2 separate regions of the Homo sapiens genome follow, and region 1 is linked to region 2. Evidence: promoter capture Hi-C in 16 types of primary human blood cells and fetal thymus (Javierre and others, 2016). All regions are on one chromosome and are shown on one strand. Each heading gives the region's core, a stretch centred on a gene start or on the middle of the fragment in contact. The rest is flanking DNA. Distances are from core to core; before and after follow the strand shown. Region 1 has its middle 120 kb from the start of SNORD3F. Region 2 holds the start of ENTPD4 (ectonucleoside triphosphate diphosphohydrolase 4).

The links. The method cuts DNA at HindIII sites, captures the fragments that hold promoters and counts their contacts. A CHiCAGO score of 5 or more calls a contact.
Region 1: a fragment that was not itself captured here is called in contact with the fragment with the promoter of ENTPD4 in region 2 in 1 of 17 cell types (non-activated CD4 T cells); the score reaches 5.4 in non-activated CD4 T cells.

What each region holds. Positions count from the first base shown.
Region 1 is chr8:20,489,780-20,496,326 of GRCh38, reverse strand. No RefSeq gene overlaps it. Among named protein-coding and RNA genes, the nearest start is that of SNORD3F, 120 kb to the left of the region's middle. RefSeq lists an enhancer at 2,433-2,971. The HindIII fragment of the contact is 288 bases long and covers 1,751-2,038 here.
Region 2 is chr8:23,454,625-23,462,118 of GRCh38, reverse strand. It overlaps ENTPD4 (ectonucleoside triphosphate diphosphohydrolase 4), which reads left to right and starts at 4,472. Exons shown (of 13, transcript NM_004901.5): 1 at 4,472-4,562. It overlaps ENTPD4-DT (ENTPD4 divergent transcript), which reads right to left and starts at 4,348. Exons shown (of 5, transcript NR_186533.1): 1 at 4,130-4,348; 2 at 2,765-2,905. RefSeq lists a silencer at 4,259-4,938 and an enhancer at 6,804-7,305. The HindIII fragment of the contact is 7,512 bases long and covers 1-7,343 here.

The DNA.
Region 1 (6,547 bases), core at 645-3,144, 3.0 Mb after region 2:
CCTAACACCATCACACCGGGGGTTCTGAGTTCAGCTTATGAATTTGGGGAAACAAAATCATGCAGTCCATAACTCCCAATTTTCCTTCAGGATCCATTTTTCCTGTAATTTTTCAGGAAGCATGTCAATGACAGTTCAATTAAGTACTTTACATGCCAGTTCTAGTGCTAGGAACACTAAATACATTTAAGCTTCAAATTAGACATGATTATCCTCATTTTACAGAAAAAGAAAGGAAGACCAGAGGGATTGCAGTATTTCCCTCAATCACTCAGTTTTGGGGCAACAAAGCTTGTACTAAGGCCCCCTCCAGAGTCTTCTCTATGTACAACATGGAGACATCCCAGGCAGGTGGTACACAGAAGGCACACAGGCCAGGAATAAGGCCCAGGCCAGTGTCCTGGGCACCTGCTGCCACCGACCAGCCACAGGGTCTCACGGACCACCTCGGAGTTTGAGTTTCTAATATGTAAAATCAGTGTTGGGCCTTCGCTCTCCATGTGTTATAAGTTTCTTAAGGAGGTTAAGGCCTATCTGAAAGAGCCAAAGGGGTTAAAACCTGCAAAATGTGGGGTGGGAGCACGTGCATCCCAGCAGGAGAGATTAGCAGTCCTGGAGGGGGGGGATCTGGTGGGGGAGGGATAAGGCAAGTGGAGTTGTGAAGATGCTGAGGTTTTAGACTTAAGACCTTAAACAAGTCAGATGGAGATGGGGTCTCCATTTGTGTCAAGTAGGGCAACCAGGGCTGGTGACATAGGACACAGTGCAGGCAGCTTCACTCTGGGGACTTTGGCTTCATGGCAGTGGCTCAGGAAAGACTCTGGACCCCAGGAGGTCACAGCCCCAGGAGCTGGCTGGGATCGTGGAGACTGTCTGATGTGAGCACACAATGGAGGAATGTGCCCCCCGGAGCCCACATGCACTCATTTCTCTTCTCTACAAGTCTTTGGCTGCTGGAAGAACCCAGGTGCAGAGAGTTGGCCAACCCTTAACCTCTTGGGCTCAAGCAATCCTCCCACCTCAGCCTTGTGAATAGCTGGGAATACAGGCACGTGTCACCACACCAAGCTATTTTTTTAACATTTTTTTATAGAGATGAGGGGTCTCACTATGTTGTCCAGGCTTGTCTCGAACTCCTGGGCTCAAGTGCTCTTTATACCTTAGCCTCCCAAAGTGCTGATTAGAGGCATAAGCCACCATGCTGGCCAACTCAGCTTTTCAAGTAGTTCCTCTTATCTTTTGTTATGTAACTGTTCACACCCTGTTCCTTTAGGGTTTTGTTAAAGGCCAACCATCTAACCCCAAGTCAGTGGTTCTCTCTGAACATTTAATCCCTAAAAACAACAACATCACATTCAACTCACAAAAGGCCCAACTGCATTATGGTAACCAGGGTTGAAATTCACCTCAGCAGACTTCCAAAACTCACATGGCTGGGATCTAAGTAGGCAAATGCCTGTATTATATGTCTCTGTGATGGTAAATGGGGCTAAGTCACCAGAGTCCAGGAGCCTCACACTTCTGCCAGGAGCCATGGAGCGACATGGCTGCTCTCCTCTCACCCTTCCCTTCAGGGGCCCCAACAGGCTTCCCAGGCCTCAGCGGATAGACGTGAACTTTCCAGCCCCTGGGCTGAGGTGTCTCAAGGGACTTCTTGAATTACAGACCCAGACACCAAGAAGCCTCCCCTTCTCCATTTGGGTGTGCTGTGGCAAAAAGAGAACAATTCCCTCCTTTCCACCTCCAAGCTTGTTTTTAGCTCTCTCTCTCTCCTAGCACCTAACTCATCAGCATACAGAGTAGTTTTGATAGAACCCCTATAAGGCTTTCTCTCCAAAGAGGGATTTTAATACCCTTCTCAGTGACATTTTATATGATAACAGTATGTAAGTTTGACAGGAAGCTGTTTTCCAAGAGTTAAAGTCCAAACAGTCCCACAGATCAGACTGATAATGGCTTTCCTGATCATTATTAAATTCCCTGTGATTAGAAAATGGGCCGGTGCTATTGATTTAAGCTCTTTGAGTTAAGCTAAGCTTTAGAGGGCTTTCACAAGGCACAAAAAGGGCATTTGAGACTGTATTTTACCTTCCCAATTAAAGTAGTTTTCAGAGTACAAACAGCAGACAGCCAGACATTAGGCAGGCGTTCCAGAAAGAAAGGTGGAAGCATTTGTCCAGAACATGGAACCAGAAGACAAGCCCCATCACAGCCAAGACAAGCCCCATCACAGCCAATGCTGCAAAGTGCAGACAGAGGTTGAGGCTCAAATTCCCTAAGAAAAAAGGCTTCCTACTCCCAACAGTGCCTGGGTCAATGACACTTTGAATTCAACCTCAAAGCATCTATAGGTGATAAGAATTTCCAGTCCTAGAATTTTGAGTTTCAAGGATTTCAATTTCAATTTCAAGGATTTTTTCATGTGGTCTTTCAATCATGGTCAAGCTGTCTATACAAATTTTGCATCAAGAAATTATCGCCAAATCTCCAAAGGCTAAAGATTCCAGATTACTTTTTCAGCTTAATAAGTGAGAAAAGAATGAAGGCAACGGTGTTTCTATTACAATCTAAAGCTCTAGAGAAAACAAGGATCCCTAGAGGAAAATCTTGAGCAATTGCAGGGTCTTAAGTGCTTTGTGTCTTTCTGAAGGAAAGACACTTGAGGTTTTTAGGTGCGCCTGCAGTGCCTATTTGTTGCCCAGACAATAAGCAGTTTGAGCGACTGTGCTCAGGCCCCTGAGCATTTCTTCTCTTGACTGCCTGTCTTCTAATCCGCCCCAACCCCAGGAGAGCTTTTCTGAAACCAGTTGCTTCCTCTCCAGCTGGGAGGTCTTGGTGCCCAATGTCTTTGATTCTGCCCACAAGGGGCTCAGCATCCAAGCTAGGAGCCTTGTCATACGCATCCTGTCACTGTTTTTTTTCTTTTTTCAAACCATGATCAAAAGTAAGAAACTTATTTTTAAACCACAACCCAGCCTGTGACAGGCATTTAAGACAAAAACGAAAGTTTCAGCAAATAATACTCATGCGTACTAGGGGCATTTTGATGTCACAGCCCGCAAAATTGATGTTATGGTTCCAACAGGTGTCAGCCTGCAAAATGAAAACTGCTCGGTGTTATCAAGGATCACAAACATTCCTTTAAAATGTATTTATTTAGCAATTACTTAGAGAGCACAGGGCATGTGCCTGTGTTAACTGTTGTATGGGGACAGGGAAGAATATGGAAGTCTCTCCCCTCAAGCAGCTCACAATTGACATGGAGAGGCATAACTGATATGTAGGAAGATGTAAATAGCAATGCCTAAGAGATTGGTGTTCAGATGGAGCATGGGTCTGTGCAGTAGAGATACCAGGAGGGAGAGGTGGGGAGGGGCCTGCACACTGAGGAGGTTGGGAAAGCTGCAAGGCAACTGTTATCATCCTTGGGGGAGCTGTAACTCCTGCACCTTACTATCCCTTGCAGGTACATGTGCATCACAGGCTTTCAATAATTGTGCATTGAATGGCTCTCTGGTTAGATCATATTAAGGTTGTGAAGGAATCCAATCGCCAATGCTTGTTGAGCAAACTAAAGTATGCCTGGGTCTGTGCTGGGAGTTTAACCTAGTTATCATATTTACTCCTCGTGACAAGCTAGTGTAGTAGTTGCTATTGTCCCATATTTAATGGTGAGGAAATTGACCCTGAGACATGTTCAATGGCTTACCCAAGGTCGCGCAACTTAAGTAAGGTGAGGATCTAAGACTTAAACCTAGACTTTTAAATCCAAAGCACTTGCTCCTTCCACTCCCTTGAGGACCACATAGATTTAGATAGCCTTAGGGGAGACCAATGAGGACAGAGTCTAGGAAGGGAAATGGTGCAAGCATCGTGCATGGCATCTTTTGGGAACAAGTGAGGAAACCAGCAAGATAGAAGTAGAAGTTTCATTTTAGGAGAAAGGCGGGCAAGGGCCAGGTTAGATGATCATGAGGAGGGAGATAGAGCTAGAAAATAACTTTGTGTTGCTGAAAAATACCGATATCAATAACAACAACAATGATTTTTTTTATTTACAATATGCTATGCACCATTTCAAGGTTCATATCTAGTTAGTAATTTTATTCTACAGTTAAAGAAACTTGGCACAAAAATTGCTGAATAGCTTGTCTAAGATCAAACAGAATAATATTTGATAATCCTAGGCTAGTGTGAAATTGGTGTTGCCATTACCAATGTACTATTTTTGCTCCTCTACTTTTTTTTTTTTTGGAAACAGGGTCTCACGCCCAGCTGGAGTACAGCGGCATCACCACAGCTCACTGCATCCTCGATCTCCCAGGCTCAAGCAATCCTCCTGCCTCAGCCTCCCAAGTCGCTAGGACTACAGGTGCAAGACACCATGCCTGGCTAATTTTTTTTTTTTAATTTTAGTAGAGATGAGGTCTATGTTGCCAGGCTGTTCTCCACTTTTTCTAAATCCAGTTCTTGCTGCTCAGTGGGAACCATGAGCTCAGGGTACCTGCAGCAGGCACTCCAGTGCTCTCCTCAGATCCCCTCATCAGGGCTGATTTGTCAGTTCCCAGATGCTGAGAATACTGACTGCTGAGGATTCACAGCTGTGACCCTGACTGCGCGATGCCCTAAGCCACAAAGAATTCCCTTGCCCAAGGTTACACCCCTCCAAAGAGACAGCCTGTGGCCAATGATGGACTGATACGGGAATCCAAAAAGTTTCAACTTTGTCTCAACTGGGAACAACTCTGAAAGGTCGGAAAGGTCATCCTAGCTCAAAGCTCCCCACAGAACTGGCTGAATCCTCAGTGGAAACTATTTTTTAGGTCAGTAAATTTCAGCTACTGCTGCTTTCTTCTTTCTCCTCCTCCTTCTTCTCTTCCTCCTCATTCCCCAACCCTCCCTTCCTCATTTTTTTTGAACAGGTGTTTTTCCCAAGAGCACTCCCTAATAAACCCTGAGTGAAATTCTCCATTTCATAGTCTGTTTCCAGGGAACCCAGTCTGAGCCCATTAATACCAGGATTGGACCTAGAAAGTGGGCTATCAAATATGCTTTTGGAGGTGAATTATTCCCTGGCCAGTTGGCAATGAGGACTCCATCCTGGTGGTCAGTATAGTATGGGTAGTGTCTGGTGTGCTTTAGCAGTGCAACTGCAAAATGTCTACCTAGCTTAAAGGTATTAGAACACCAGTAAAAGGTGATGCACTGGCTGGAGTAATATCTCTGGCACCTTAGAGGCATGAGGGAAATAATAACTCGAAAGACCATGGAATTGGTGGCCGTTGTTGAGTGCTACAGATTCACTCGCTGAAGAGAGATAGTATAAAACTCATGATAATCAGTTGATAATTCAAGGTAAAATGTGAAAGCCAGGTGATTTCCTTTGCAGCATTTAAAAAAAAAAAAAAAAAACTATAACAGAGGGTCATCCACACAAAAAATCGGATTCAGTAATTAATCATGTAATAGCAACAGAACTTCAGGGAAGACTGAATTCTCAGCTGAGAGGTCTCCTATGCCAAGGTCAAGGCCATAACAGAAAAGGAGTAGGACTCTGACACTTGGGATGTGATTACCTGGGTAATGATGTAGTTGAGAATTTTTAACTCCCATCTTCCCCCAAACCTGCTGGCCTGCAGAAGTACCTATTCCTCTTGATAGAGGATAGTGCCCCCACTTCCTTGCCTGAGTATCATACAATGATGGCAAATGAGTCAGCTGCCTTGCAAGACTGAACTGGCCCCCTGGGGATTCCTATGCCAATCTTTCTTTCCGTCAATCAGACCAATAGGAAAAGTCAAATCAACAAGACCAACAAGGCCAGAGAAGGAGGGAGTATGTGGAAGAGAGGGACTATACACCAAAGGGGTGCAGGTTCTGGCTGATATGTACCAAGAAGAGATGGGAGTGTGTGCATTAGGCTGGATTCTGAGGGCAATGAGTCAAGGGGATGGAACACAGTTGGATAAAGGGGGTTATATTAATATGAAAATGTATTAAAATTTCCCCATGATATGGAATTGAACACCCTGGCAAGGATCCTGGAAGAAGATGCTACTAAACTGCCAGGTTGAATCTTGTAAGTTTAGAACCAGTAATGGCCCAAACTAAATGGATGTACCAGCACTTCCCTGGCAAATGATGGAAGAAGGGCTCAAAGAGCTCAGAAAAATGGGTGGGACAGAGTGGATACAGGCAAAAAACCCACTTTCTGACTATGTTCTATGAAGACTAAGAGGACATTTTATTTCCCAAAGTGATAAGGAATGTGTTGGTGAGAGGAACACCAGCATCACTCATGTGCTCAGTGGTGTCTGTCTTCTTTCAGCTAGAGCTGGCAGTAGGCGATGCTGTTACAATATTGGACTCCCTGATCGCAACGGGAATGCTAGCATCCAAAAGCCAGATAGATCACGGTGGATGAGAGTGGGCTACTGCCAATTTAACCAAACAGCAGCCCCCAATTGTGCCTACTTTGCTAGATGTGGTACCTTTTTTAGAGGAGATTAACACGCCAACACATGATATGCAGACATTAATCTAGCGA
Region 2 (7,494 bases), core at 3,223-5,722:
AGAAATTTAAACAAATAAAGAGCTTATTTTTCTCTCCTAATAAGAAGTCAGGGGGTAGACACAGTCACTGGTACTAGTTCAGCGGTTTAATGATGCCATCATGGACCCAAACAGTTCTATCTTTCAGTTCCATCGTATTTATTGTTGGCTCTTATCAGGATGACTGTTGTCCCATGGTTGCAAAATGGTCATGTATCTCCAGGTATCACATATTTGTTCAATATTTCATTTAACACTTTTAAAGTCCCATGCACAAAATGAGTTACTTTGATTTTACAACCATGATAGCTGTATTCTTTGTAGATGCTCCATCAAGCTGAGGAAAATCATACCCTTTATAGTTGATAAAGGCTTTTTTTCAAAATTATGAATGGGTGTTGAATTTTGCCAAATTTTTTTTTGCATTGACTGAGATCATACGAATCATATGAATTTTCTTCTTTATTCTGTTTATGTAGTGAATGACATTGATTGATTTTCAAATGTTGAGCCAATTTTGCATTCCTCAAAAAAGAATCCCACCTGGTAATGCTATCTTGCTCTTTCAGATGTCGCTGGATTTGATTTGCCAATTTTGTTTTTGTTTTTGTTTTTTTGAGATGGAGTCTCACTCTGTCACCCAGGCTGGGTGCAGTGGCGCAATCTCAGCTCACTGCAACCTCCACCTCCCAGGTTCAAGCAATTCTCCTGTCTTACCCTCCTGAGTAGCTGGGATTAAAGGTGCCCACCACCTTGCCTGGCTAATTTTTGTATTTTTAGTAGAGATGGGGTTTCACCATGTTGGCCAGGCTGGTCTCAAACTCCTGACCTCAGGTGAGCCACCTGCCTCGGCCTCCCAAAGTGCTGGGATTACAGACATGAGTCATTACACCTGACCTTGATTGGCCAATATTTTGTTAAAATTTTTGCACCTATGTAAGAAATATAGGTGTGTGATTTTCTTTCCTTTTTATTTCTTGGTATCAGGATTATTCTGAATTATAAATTAAAAAGTGTTCTCTCTTCCTTTGTTCTTTCAAAAGAGTTTATATAAAATCAATATTACCTTTCTTAAATGATTGATAAACATTTACTAGTGAAGCCATCTTGCTCTGGAATTTTCTTTTTAGGACCTTAAAGATATGGGGTGATTCAAATGTTCTATTTCTTCCTGTGCCAGTTTTGGGAAGTTGTATTTTTCAAAGACTTTTTCCATTTAATGTAAATTATCGAAATGATCAGCATAAAGTTATTCATAATGTTTTCTTATTATATTTTCAATTTCTGTATATCTGTAGGGATCTTCCTCTTTTATGCTTGATATTTGTTATTCGTGTTTTTTTGTCCTGCTCAATCTCACTAGGAGTTTAGCAATTTTGTTAATATTTTCAAAGAACCAACTTGTAAGTTGGTTAATGTCTCATATTATTTTTTATTATTTTTTTCCTCCTATTCACTTCGAGTTTAATTCACTTTCTTATTCTAATGTCATAAGGTGGAAACTTAGATAATTGATTTCAAACCTTTTTTCTTTACTAAAATAAACTTTTAAAGCTATAAATTTCTCTTGAAGGACTGTTCTGACTGCATTCCACATATTTTGATGCAGTTTCATTATCATTCTGTATGCCGTGTTTTCTAACGTTCTTACAACCATGCCTGGCATAAAGTACTTAGTAAGTGTTCCCTCCTGTTAGCTCCAGTTTTTGTTTTTTTTTTTTTGAGATGGAGTCTTGCTCTGTCGCCCAGGCTGGAGTGCAGTGGTGCGATCACAGCTCACTGCAAGCTCCGCCTCCCGGGTTCACGCCATTCTCCTGCCTCAGCCTCCTGAGTAGCTGGGACTACAGGCGCCTGCCACCACGCCCAGCTAATTTTTTGTATTTTTTTTTAGTAGAGACAGGGTTTCACCGTGTTAGCCAGGATGGTCTCGATCTCCTGACCTCGTGATCCACCCGCCTCGGCCTCCCAAAGTGCTGATATTACAGGCTTGAGCCATCGCGCCCAGCCTAGCTCCAGTTTTTGTTTCTCTTGTTAACAAGTGAGAATGGGCCCCTTCAGAGCCTCTTTGCTGTTTCCACTGACTGAAATACTATTCCTTCATATAGGCCCAGAATTCTAATAAATTCCCATTCATTGTGCAGGTGTGACCTCAGACAGCGTTACCTCAAAGAAGCTCTCCCTGATGAACCAGACCAGGATGGTCCTCTCATGTACTAAGTTGAATAGTGACCACCCCCAAAAAATTCATGTCCACCCAGAACCCATGAATGTGACCTTATTTGGAAATAGGATCTTTGCAAATATAATCAAGTTAATATGAGATCATAAGATCACACTGGATGAGGGTGAGCCTTGAATCTAATATGGCTGGTGTCTTTATGAGAAGAAAGAAACTTGGAGACAGAGACACAGACACACAGAGATAATACCATGTGACAACAGGGGCAGAGACCAAAGTGATGCATCTACAAGCTGAGGAAGGCCAAGGATGGCCAGTAGCCACCAGAAGCTAGGAAGAGGCAAAGAAGGATCCTCCTCTAGATCTTTAGAGAGAGCACAGCCCTGCTGACACCTTCATTTCAGGCTTCTACCATCTAGAACTGGAAGACAATAAATTATCTTGCTTTAAGCCACCCAGTTTAGGGCAATTTGTCACTGCAGCTCTAGAATGTAATATGCCAAGTTACACGTTTCCATACTTTCCTATATTTTTCTTTCCTAGCTCTTATCAGACAATTATTACATATAAATTATCAGGAAATATGGATGGTGTGATAATACTTACTAGTCTGGCTTTTCTTCTCTCTCTCTCTGAGATGGAGTCTCACTCTGTTGCTCAGGCTGGAGTCCATTGGCGTGATCTCGGCTCACTGCAACCTCCACCTCCCGGGTTCAAGCAATTCTCCTGTCTCAGCCTCCTGAGTAGCTGGGATTACAGGCACAAAAAAGCCACTATGTCCAGCTAGTGTTTGTATTTTTAATAGAGATGGGGTTTCACCATGTTGGTCAGGCTGGTCTTGAACTCCTAATTTCAGGCAATCCACCTGCCTTGGACTCCCAAAGTGCTGGGATTACAGGCATGAGCCACCATGCCCGGCCTAGTCTGGCATTTTAGTAGAGCCCTCCTTAAGGAAGACTAACATAACCCCAACCAGTGTCTCCAATGGCAAAGATTTTGAAAGGCAGATAATTTCGAAGGAGACTGTCCTTAAAATCACAGTATGTCAGTGGCCAGCTTTAGCTTCTCAATGCTAGCCTTGGGTCACAGGGTTTTCTAGTGTGAAAATTATCCAAACGAGTAATTTCTTATAGCAACAGATTGTCAAAAAAAAGACACTGATGCGCAAGTCATGTGGGAGTCTGAAACATTGGTTCTGCTCTCCTCTGCCTCCAGGGGGTCTTGGCCAAGTCACTCAACCTCTCTGGGTTCCAGGCTCTTAACTGTAAAAGAAGGTGATTGGGGCTACACAGTAGAGTCCCTTTGGCTCTAACCTTCTGAGGCTTCATGGTTTCTTCCGTTAACAGTAGCTGAATCCAGGAAGAGGAGGTGACCCAGGCGGGTGCTGGACCAAGAAGGATTCTGTGTTAAGATGTAGAACTGCCAGTTCTGTCTATGCTTGTTTTACTTGATAAATGGAATGGAGTAGACGTTTCTAGGGCTCTTGTTTTTAAAAATCTTTTAAAGTGGCTGGATTGCTGGTCACTTCCTATCTCTGGGCCACAGTGCATTCACCTGTATACAAGGTGGAAGAAAGGATGGAACCCGGGATTCCCAAGGTCTCTTCCGGCTCTCAAGTGCAAAGTTCTGTGTCTTCAAAGCAGTTTATTGCTAAGCCAGAGAGCTAAGAGAGCTTAGCCTTGTACTAAGTGTAGGTCATGGGGTCAATCTCAGGAACACCCTTCGCTTTATTTCTTCTCATAACCATTGCGTGTGTTGGGGAGGGCTGGGGCAGTCTGCCTCCCCCAACATAGGCACTAACATATGCCATCGACGGGCAAGAATGAAATCCTGGCTCTACCTCTCACGAATCAGGTGGATCTCAAGAGAGACTGAATAAGTGTGAGCCTCCGTTTCCCCATCTGTGAAACAGGGAGAGTTACCGGCAAAGGTGTAAATGTCAAGAGTTGAGCAACAATGCCTAGTCCTTACCAGGTTTTCAAGCGCTATTTTCCATAACCGTTAGGAGCGCTAAGGAAAGATAAACTGCGGTGTCCTAAGTACGCTGAGGCTCGCTGACGACCAGACGAGCACCACGCCACAGTACTGGGTGCCTCCGTGCTCCCACGTCCACATTTCCCGTGCACAGCACACTGGCGTGGCCGCGCGGGTCCACGGAACAGCCCAGCGCTCGGACGCCAATCATCCCGCATCAGGCTCCGCCCCCCAGCGCTCAACGCGCCCCTCGGCGTGCGCGCTCCCGCCGCCAGCGGGCGCGCTCCGGGCGCAGGCGGTGACGTGTTGCCGGCGGGGGCCGGGCGGGGGTGCGGCTCCAGGAAAGGAGCGCGGCCTCCAGGAAGCCGGCTGGCCGTGATGCTGCCCACTGGTGGTCCCCCGCTCCCGGGGTCCCCGGCCGGCCAAGCAGGTGAGGTTGCCTTCCGAGCGTGGGTGAGGGGAGGGCGGGCGGCCGAAGGGGCCGGCGAGTGGGTTGGAGTGCGGGGGCCGGCGGCGCGGCGAGCGGGCCGCGGACGAGCCTCTCTGCCCCAGGCCCCCACAGCCGCCTGCTTAGCCCCGCGGACCGGTTCCCGCCTCCCCTGCCGCGCGGCCACATCCGAGCGCCCCGGGACCAACCCCTGTGAGCCCTGGCGGCCGGCGCGCTCCCCCAGCCCCTGGCAGGGGACACCTGGCGGTCGCGCGCCTCGGGTGACCGCTCGGGATCCCCCCCTCGAATGGGCGGAGCTTGACCGGGCAGCAGGGATGCTGCACCCGGGACCCAGCCGGCCCTGCCTGCCGCTTTAAATGATGACATTCGCTCGTCTTGTCGTTTTCGCTTTGCTTTGCTTTTGCCAGATTTCATGTTAGATTTCTTCTTGGAAAAATGGAGCTTATTGGGCAGTAAAGTGATGATGCACAGCATTGTTTCTGAACTTGAGTAATGCGCGGACCCCTTTTAAAGGAACAATTCTCTCATGGTCTAGAATGTGTCCCAGAACCCTTAGGGTGCTTCAGACCCCAGTTAGATGAACCCTAGTGCAGAGCGTTTTCAGAGAACACTTATCACGAAGGAAACTAAAGAGATCCTTTATGATTCAGGAACTTTCAGGCTAGAAGGTAAACTAGAGGTAATGGAAGAATTCTAAATTAGACACTCAAAGCCCAGGCTAATTTCGCATTGCAGTCTTTGTTGTCTCCTTTTTGTGATGAAAATACCAAATTATCCAGCTTTAGAGAGGCCTAAAAGAGTTATATTATTTGTGTTACCATATATTTGATGTTTTTGTATCAGGTTTGTTAATTCTGTTTGACATAGTAGAATTATAAAATGGAACACTAATTCGTGTAGTTGAATCGTTTATTTCTCTGTTTACCTTAACAGAGGTCTTGTAGTTGTTGCATGTTGAATCTATGGCTTATATTCTTCTACCTCTAATAGGAAATGTGTGACTGAGGCCCTTGAGGATATAGTCTAGGAAGGAGACAAAAATGAACATTTATCTAAGGATTTATATTCTCTACGTATTTACTCAGCATGTTTATTTAAAATAGACTACTCATGAATAAAGAGACGATTCCAATTGTAAGAAAACATCAGGATGTGTAACAGGTTAAATCTTGACAAAGAAACATGTTGACTTGTGCCTTGAAAGAAGTGTAGTCTTGAGAGGAGGACACGGTGGTGGCTCGGAGGAAGTGCTGTTAGTAAATGCCTGAGGCAGGCATGGAGACAGCTTGTGTGGGAGAGAAGAGAGAGACCTGCTGCACTGGAGCTGAGAGATGGTATCTGGGACTGATGAGAGGATAGGTTGGTGAGATAAGGTGGACCAGTTGATGGATAAAAGGTTTCAGGTGCCACACAGGAAACTTGGTGTTGATCCATGGCCTTCCAGAAGGTTCTTAGCTGATCATATTTTGAAGGCCGTGTTTTACAAAGAGTTGCTTGTAAAGTGTGGCGTGCACAGTGAAGGCAGAAGGTGGGTGAGTCGCCAAGAGATCTGTCTTGAGGTAGTGGTGCCTGCTGTGGTCATCTTAGATATGAGGGATATCTGAGGAAGAATCGACTGGCTTGGAGAATGATAGAAGATTGTCAACACCGGATGTGGGAATCAAAGCTGAGAACCAGGTAATCCAGGTCAATGGGGATTGGTGGTACCCGTCTTAGACCTGGAGAATTTGGAGGGTGGTATTAGAGTTTGCATTAGAAGATTTCAACCCTAGAGTTGGACTAGTTGAGCTTGCAGTAACAGGGCTTCAATGAGCTTGGAACGTGGAACTGGAACTTGAGGAAAGTCAGAGTTAATTCAGGAAAAGTGACCAGAAAAAGACTACTTAAAATGGGAACCAGAATTTTGCAAATTAATAGAGGGAGGAAGAGGTTAAGATTTTATATTGAAAAATAAAATTAAAATGTGTAAGATAAATATTGAACATACAGATCATAAATGCAACTACATACATATCTTCTTAAAGAATGAATCAAGTTGTCTTCATGTATCTTTTGTCACTACTGAGTAACGGTGCCACCCGGCAGCCTCCACATCAGCCTCTCACTCTCAGAAAGACAGTTGTTTCTTGCAAAACGCTGCCGGAATGGTTGAGAGCATCTTTAATTTTTCCAGGTTCTCTTGAATCCTTTGATATTCAAATCATTCTTTTCTGAAGTACCCTTCCCTGTGGTACCTTTGCTTATTCAGAAGCTGAGCTCTCCCAGAGGCTGACTTCTCTGTGATTTTGTTTGCCTGTGATTTGAGTTCACTAACATCTGTTTCCTTGCATCTTGTGTTTTTCCACCAGAGGAACCATTTCCCTTTGTGGTTGATTTGCATTGTTTTCGTCGTTATCTGTAGAACTGTCAGTGAGAGACTGACAAAGACATTGACACCTGACTGTAGGCTTTATTCCAATAATGTTCAGCCAAGTAGGGCCCCACTAGCTGAAATCATGAGAATTAATGCATCTCTCTGGTGATAGGTCTAACACAATTTAGGCTTTTTTAAAACATGTCAGTTTTATGTGGTATTACTGAATTTGCCTCCCAGTGCCCTGGTGCGAAGATTCTTAGCTAGAAGGACAATTGGAGTTTACATTTGAAGATCAAATTACCATTTAACTCTTAGGCAATAATCCATTGTACTTTTGTCCTGAGTTAAAATTACAGTGCTTCAGCAGTTATAAGCTGTCCTATTTTCTCTGCTTTTAAACACAAGCTTTGTAACTTAAAATATCTGTTTGTCCTTTTGATCAAAATCATCACATATCTCAAAAAAAAAAAATTCCTGAGACAAACCTCAGATGACACAAAGTTTCCTAAGTGCGCTGTGATCATTCTCTCGGTCACCTTCCTCTTCGAAGTGTGTTCT